2 separate regions of the Homo sapiens genome follow, and region 1 is linked to region 2. The links are contacts of gene promoters, found by promoter capture Hi-C in blood cells and fetal thymus (Javierre and others, 2016). All regions are on one chromosome and are shown on one strand. Each heading gives the region's core, a stretch centred on a gene start or on the middle of the fragment in contact. The rest is flanking DNA. Distances are from core to core; before and after follow the strand shown.

What was found. The method cuts DNA at HindIII sites, captures the fragments that hold promoters and counts their contacts. A CHiCAGO score of 5 or more calls a contact.
Region 1: a contact is called between a fragment that was not itself captured here and the fragment with the promoter of ADAMTSL4 in region 2, in 4 of 17 cell types (endothelial precursors, megakaryocytes, erythroblasts and 1 more). The highest score is 12.1, in endothelial precursors.

The regions. Positions count from the first base shown.
Region 1 is chr1:150,807,452-150,810,830 of GRCh38, reverse strand. It overlaps CTSK (cathepsin K), which reads left to right and starts at 2,571. Exons shown (of 8, transcript NM_000396.4): 1 at 2,571-2,617. It overlaps ARNT (aryl hydrocarbon receptor nuclear translocator), which reads left to right. Exons shown (of 22, transcript NM_001668.4): 22 at 1-1,118. The HindIII fragment of the contact is 1,367 bases long and covers 671-2,037 here.
Region 2 is chr1:150,546,983-150,550,678 of GRCh38, reverse strand. ADAMTSL4 (ADAMTS like 4) reads right to left here and starts at 1,271. Exons shown (of 19, transcript NM_019032.6): 1 at 1,180-1,271; 2 at 784-857. It overlaps LOC124904417, which reads right to left and starts at 389. Exons shown (of 1, transcript XM_047438226.1): 1 at 1-389. The coding sequence starts at 389. It overlaps ADAMTSL4-AS2 (ADAMTSL4 antisense RNA 2), which reads left to right. Exons shown (of 6, transcript NR_187269.1): 6 at 1,929-2,115. RefSeq lists an enhancer at 1-65 and silencers at 1,401-1,540, 1,711-1,860, 1,792-2,086. The HindIII fragment of the contact is 42,411 bases long and covers 1-3,696 here.

The DNA.
Region 1 (3,379 bases), core at 105-2,604, 260 kb before region 2:
CTCCAATCTTGAGATTGGGTTTTGCTTTAGAGTGCAAGTATCATAATTCCGTATGATAGATGGGGCCTGGACACCCATCTCAACAGGGTCACTTGGTAATTAACAATAGCCATATAAATGCGGATACAGGTTACTACCCTCACCCTTTACCTTCCTCAGGTAACAGTCGTAGATACCAGCTTTTTTTTTTTTTTTTTTAAATTGGCTTTGGCCAGTAGCTAAAGTGCAAGACTGAATTAATGAGAAGATATATTAAATGTAGTCATAGGGGACTGAGGAGCAAGGGTGGCCTTGAAGAGGCCAAAGGAATGTCCATTTGCTGAGTTTCCCTTCCTTATGTCTCCAGTCTGGTGCCAGGTAGTGGAGTAAAAAAGGAGACAGTTTATTTTTTTATTCTATGTGCACACTTACAGTATACATATATATTTATATCACAATTTACGAAACCAAAAAGTTGAGTTTCCAATGGAACCCTTGTTTTTTAATAATCGACTTTTTAAATGTGATCAGGACTATAATATTGTACAGTTATTATAGGGCTTTTGGGGAAGGGGAGGATAGCGAGAAGATGCTCTGGGGGTTTTGTTTTTGCTTTTCCTTCAGGGTTTTATTTTTGACTGTTTTGTTTTCTTGTTGGCCATTTCTGTATTGCTGGCATCTGTGCTAAGCTTTACAGTGGCAAAAATAATGACATGTAGCAAAGATTTTCAAACAAAATATTTTTTCCTTTTGTAAAATTTCTTGTGTTGTGTGATCTTGATTGCGGCTTTATCATTCCTTTCCAGTTCATAAACAACAGGCACCCACAACCAGAGGAATCTATAGTTTAAGCTCCAGACATACAAACATAAGGCACATTGTGTCTTTAATTTCAGGAATCAGAAATCATAGGGTTCTGATCACATTGCACGCCTCCCCCCTCACTTGTCCTCCTGATCCTGACACATTCTGAGTAACATCAGCAGGAATGCTCTGACCATGAGGTGGGGGTTTTGGGGTGGGCGTTGCCTGGGTTCTTGGGAGAGAGGGGAAGAGTCGGGACTTGAAAACCACTAGGGCACATCTGGATGCCTTCCCCCAGTATGTCCTTTTCTGGATTAAAATGAGTGAAATTTAAACTGTTCAAGTCTGGACCTGGTTTCCCTCTAGGAGACTATGTTGGTTCATTAGCAACTTTTTTTTTTTTTTTTTTTTTTGTGTGTGTGTGTGTGTGTGTGTGTGAGAGATGGAGTCTCGCTCTGTTACCCAGGCTGGAGTGCAGTGGCACGATCTTGGCTCACTGCAACCTCTGCCCCTTGGGTTCAAGCAATTCTCCTGCCTCAGCTTCCCAAGTAGCTGGCACTACAGGTGTGTGCCACCATGCCCAGCTAATTTTTGTGTTTTTTTTTTTTAGTAGAGATGGGGTTTCACTATATGTTGGCCAGGCTAGTCTCGAACTCCTGACCTTAGGTGATCCACATGCTTTGGCCTCCCAAAGGCCTGGGATTACAGGCGTGAACCACTGCGCCTAGCCTGTTAGCAGCTCTTAAAATCCAGAGGCATAAGCCTGTATTTTTGAGGGTTTATGCATGGAATCCAGCTAGAAACTGAGTCTATTACAGATCCCATTTATTATCCTTTCTATTCCAAGAAGCCTTTTTTTCTCCTTCCCCACATCTGTTTATGGAAGAAAATGAAGTTTGGGGTGTGGTTTGAGGAATCAGCTAGATTCTTATGATCTGTCACATGCTTGGATGTTGGGGAAGCATTTGGAGAAGCTCATGTGACTTGTCCTAGATTGGGGATTTTAATTGAGACAGATGATGTTTATCGGGCATCCCACCACCTGAGAGTTTTAGCAACAGAGTCACATGTGAGTCCATCAGAACTTACGGCATTGATTCAAGTGCTGTCATAAATAACCAGGACTGCTGTTTTTGGTTACTTTTAAAGACAGTTTCATCTGGACTTTCTGGGCATATCCTCCTTCAGCAAAACCACATTAGGCTGGGAAAACTATTCTGCCTGGAAGTAATGACAACTTGCAACCAACAAGCTTATAAAAATACAAAGAATTCTGGAGCCTATGGCTTCCATTACATTATTCTTTTATAGCCTTTTATGTTCATTACCGCATCCCAGAGGTGAGAGTCAGACACAAATATGAAAATAGGTTTCAATGTTGGAGAGGTAAATCCTAACAGGAAAGGGGTAGGAAAAGATATAATCCCCCAATATTAAAATAAAGATATTGAAGAAGAAGGATGGGAGAGACTAGGGCTGTGTCCTTCCTTTTACTCACCAAAAGAGAAAGTAAGCTCCTATTTGAGTCAATAGATATTGAGGTCTTGTTATTTGCCACCAAAGACAGTCTTGTGAGACTAAATAGCTAGTAATTCCCTACCCTGGCACACATGCTGCATACACACAGAAACACTGCAAATCCACTGCCTCCTTCCCTCCTCCCTACCCTTCCTTCTCTCAGCATTTCTATCCCCGCCTCCTCCTCTTACCCAAATTTTCCAGCCGATCACTGGAGCTGACTTCCGCAATCCCGATGGAATAAATCTAGCACCCCTGATGGTGTGCCCACACTTTGCTGCCGAAACGAAGCCAGACAACAGATTTCCATCAGCAGGTAACGTTTGCAACTTCCTAGATCTTTTAGCTTTTCATTCCTGTCAATTCTCTGAGTATTAGGGATGTAGTGACTTGAGGATCACAATAAACTTTTAGCCTCTGCAGATGAAAACAGAGATGCACTTCTTAGGTCATTCCCTGGCTAAATAAAATCTGCCTGGAAATCTGTAGAATTCCTTGTATGATTTATATATATACATACATGATTGTTAGTAAAAGCAAAGTATATAGGGAATCATTTCCCCATCCTTCAAGAGTGGCCTTTCTGCAGTGTTTTCTACTTTGGCCAACAAGGATCAAAACGGTTAACTCCTTAGTGAGGAGGAGGAGAGTGGTATGGGGAGGTAGTAGCTCAGTGCTTCCTGTTCACTGAGACATCTCAAAGCCCTTAACACTCTAGTTTTTAAATGTCCTACTGGACATTTTGCCAGTTTGCAAAATTACATGTAAATGGACTATAAGCAATTGTGTAAGCCATATGTCATGCTGCAGGCTGCAAATTGTTCTTAAAATGGAGGATTTGTAATTAAGAAAGCCAATGCAAGAAATGAGTGAAGCTAACTAGAGTAAACTTATGAAAAGCTGTGAATTTCATCATCATAGAACATTGCTTTTCAGTCTGAACATTCTTCTAACAAACCTTGGATCTGAGGCTTCTTGTCCTTTGCGGCAGCCACAGTGGGTTTTTGTTGTTAGGGGAAAAATAAAAAACCTTGCCCGCAGCATCTGGTTAAGATTAGGGCAGTTTCCTGCCTAAGGA
Region 2 (3,696 bases), core at 22-2,521:
TCTCCAGAGAAGGGCCCATGTTCCACCCAAGTCTTCAGGCTCTGCCTGACTCTTGTTACTCCAGCTGAGGGAAGAAGAAATGGGGTGATAGTCACTGCCTGCCCCTTCTCTGATGCCGACCCCTCTTCATGCCCTCTCTGCCTCTGCTTCTCTCTGCCACCGAGATCTCTTCTCGCAGCCCCTCTCCACGGGTCTACCCAGTACACATAATCCCATCCCGAGCTGGGTTTGGCTTTGGCAGTTCCCTGGAGAAGTGAGGGGTGGGGGTGACGTGAGCTCCCGGGGCCCGGGCCAGGCCTGGCTCCCTCTCTGGAAAAGTCCCACCCCACCCTCCCCTGCGCAGCCCGGCAGGGGCCCATGCCCCCTCCTCTGCAGAAACACACGCACATTTATGCTTCTCACCCCTTTCCATGTCCCTCATTTGGTGTCGTTCCCGGCCCAGGACGAGGAAAGGAGAGGTCAGAGGTGGTCACTCTGGTGCCAGAGTAGACCCTGGTCTGGACAAACGCGGGCTCCTCCTGGCCACACCTCTCCACACTGCCCAGTGAAGACCAAGGAACAGAGACCTGCGCAGGGCTCACCCCTTCACCCCCAGGTCTCCCTGCTGGAGAGTGGTTGGACCCTGTGTTTCTGGGCCTAGCCATGGAGAATCCCTGTCCTGAGTCCGAATTCCCGGGCCCTCAGAGCCCTCCACTCCTGGGTCTGGCAGGCCACCCCAACAGGTGTCTTTCTTTTTTGTCAACCTCTTCTGCCATCGGGCTGAGCTGGATCAAGGGCACCCACCTGCGTCCCTCGCGGCGACCCTGTCCTCCAAGTTCAGGAGTGCAGTGGGGGACACACCGTCCGAGAGCACCCTCCTAGAGAGAGGGCAGGAGGCACCGGCCGCGCGGGGAGGTCATGGGTCTGTTTTCCAACTTTACTATGTGACTTAGGAGGAATTTTGGTTCACTCCCCGCCCGGGTGATGGGGCCAGAGTTCCACGGGATCAGACTCCCTCCCCAGGAATTCGACCCCAGGGGCTGGAAGATTGTCCGAGGCCACCGGAGCTGGGTCCGGGGTCGTGGCGGGGTCGCGACCGCACAGCGCAGGGAGAGGGGACGACGCGGGCGCGCGGGGCGGGCGGTCTAACGGGACCCGGGAGAGGGGCGGCCGGGGCCGGGGTCCCGGGGAGGTCTCTACCTGCTCTGCGAGCCCCCGGTGGCCCGTTAACCCTTCTGCGCCCAGGCGCTCTCTCCAGGCAACCTCGCTCCGCGGCGGCCACTGGGGCCCCTGAGCCGCGCTCCGGTCACGGCCGCCTCGGCCGCAACTCCGCCCTCGCGCCCGCCCCCGCCCAGCCCCGCCCGCCACGCGCCCCAGCCCGCGCCCCTCGGCGGCCCCGGGGTGGGGCCGGTCTGCCTCGCAGCCCCACTCGCCAGGACCACCCACCCCGGGCTGCGCGCCGGGCGCCCCCCGACGGCTGCGTGAGCTGAAGCCCGGGCTGGCCCAGCCGGGGTCGGAGGCTGCAGTCGCTCCCGGGCGCTGTCCTCGTGCCCGGCCGAGACTAGGGACTTAAGCAGCCCGGGCTGGCCCAGCCGGGGTCAGAGGCTGCAGTCGCTCCCGGGCGCTGTCCTCGTGCCCGGCTGAGACTAGGGACTTAAGCAACCCGGGCCTCCGAGCCGCTCGGGTGAGCGGTGCGAACACGGCGCGGCGCGGCGCGGCACAGGCGGGGCAGCCTCCAGGGGCGCCTGGAGCGAGGCGGCCTGGGAGAGCCGCTGGTCCGGGAGGGAAGCGCCCTGGACGGAGGTACCCGCGGCCCCCGATCCGCGTGGGTCCAGGCTCTCCCCTCCACGCAGCCTCCCCTGCAAACTCAGTCACTCCTGCCTCTCCCGTGTTGGGCAGTGGTGGTTCAGATTGCTGGGACTTCTATGAGCTTCGGTTTTTTTCCTCAGTAAGGTTTTACACTCGGGACTCAGCGAAAGGACAGCGTGCTGACTTCTGAGTCAGACTGATCTGGATTTGAACCTCAGCTCCAGCTCTTGCCAGCTATGTGGTCTTCGACGAATACTTCCACCCCTGTGTGGTGCAGTTTGCTCATCTGCAAAATGGGACTAATCTAATATATATGATGGGCTTGGATATGTCTCTTTATGCATTTATACATGGAAGAATGCACCCCAAACTCAGTAGTATTGGTGACATCTGGGGAGGGATGCAGGGTTGGGGGAGGACTGAAAAAGGCTTTTGCTTTTTACTCTGCGTTATGTTTATTATTATTATATTATTATTTATTTATTTTTTTTGAGACGGAGTCTCACTCTGTCGTCCAGGCTGGAGTGCAGTGGTGCTATCTTGGCTCACTGCAAGCTCCGCCTCCCAGGTTCACGCCATTCTCCTGCCCTAGCCTCCTGAGTAGCTGGGACTACAGGCGTCTGCCACCACGCCCGGCTAATTTTTTGTATTTTTAGTAGAGACGGGGTTTCATCGTGTTAGCCAGAATGGTCTCGATCTCCTGACCTCGTGATCCGTCCGCCTCGGCCTCCCAAAGTGCTGGGATTACAGGCGTGAGCCACCGCACCCAGCTATGTAATGTTATTTTTGTGAATTTTTTTAACCACAAGAGCAATCCATCTATTAGTTTTATCTTTTTTTTTTCTTTTTTTTTTTGAGATGGAGTTTCACTCTTGTTGCCCAGGCTGGAGTGCAGTGGCGCGATCTCGGCTCACTGCAACCTCCGCCTCCCAGGTTCAAGTGATTCTCCTGCCTCAGCCTCCCAAGTAGCTGGGATTAGAGGCATGCGCCACCATGCCTGGCTTATTTTATATTTTTTAGTAGAGACGGGATTTCTCCATGTTAGTCAGGCTAGCCTCCAACTCCCGACCTCAAGTGATCCTCCTGCCTCGGCCTCCCAAAGTTCTGGGATTATAGGCGTGAGCCACCGCGCCTGGCTATTATTTATTATAAATAATATATGTAAGCTGGGCATGGTGGTGAAAGCCTGTAGTCCTAGCTACTCAGGAGGCTGAGCGGGGAGGATTGCTTGAGCCCAGGAGTTTGAGGCTGCAGTGAACTATGATCGTGCCACTGCACTCCAGCCCCTGCGACAGAGAGAGACCTCGTCTCAAAAAATAAACACATAAATAAATAAAATATGTAAAATGGCTGGCATAGAGTAGACAATAAATGGTCACTGCTATTTTTATATTTTACTTTTTTTTTTTTGAGAAGGAGTCTTGTCCTGTCACCCAGGCTGGAGTGCAATGGCGCCATCTCAGCTCACTGCAACCTCTGCCTCCTGGGTTCAAGCCATTCTCCTGCCTCAGCCTCCTGAGTAGGTGGGATTGCAGGCACGAGCCACCACGCCTGGCTAATTTTTTGTATCTTTAGTAGAGATGGGGTTTCACCATGTTGGCCAGGCTGGTCTCGAACTCCTGACCTCATGATCCGTCCGCCTCAGCCTCCCAAAGTGCTGGGATTACAGACATGAGCCACTGCTCCCGGCCTATATTTTTACTTTCTATTTACTGACGCGTTGTATTTTGTTGGGTCTACTCAGTGTTTTAAAGGTTTTTGTTTGTTTGTTTTTTGTTTTTAAGACAGGCTAGTTTCAAACTCCTGGGCTCAAGAAATCCTCCTTCCTTGGGCTCCTAAAATGCCGGGATTACATGTGTGAGCCACTGGGCCCAACCTAAAGGCACATTTTTTTTTTTTAAATAACTT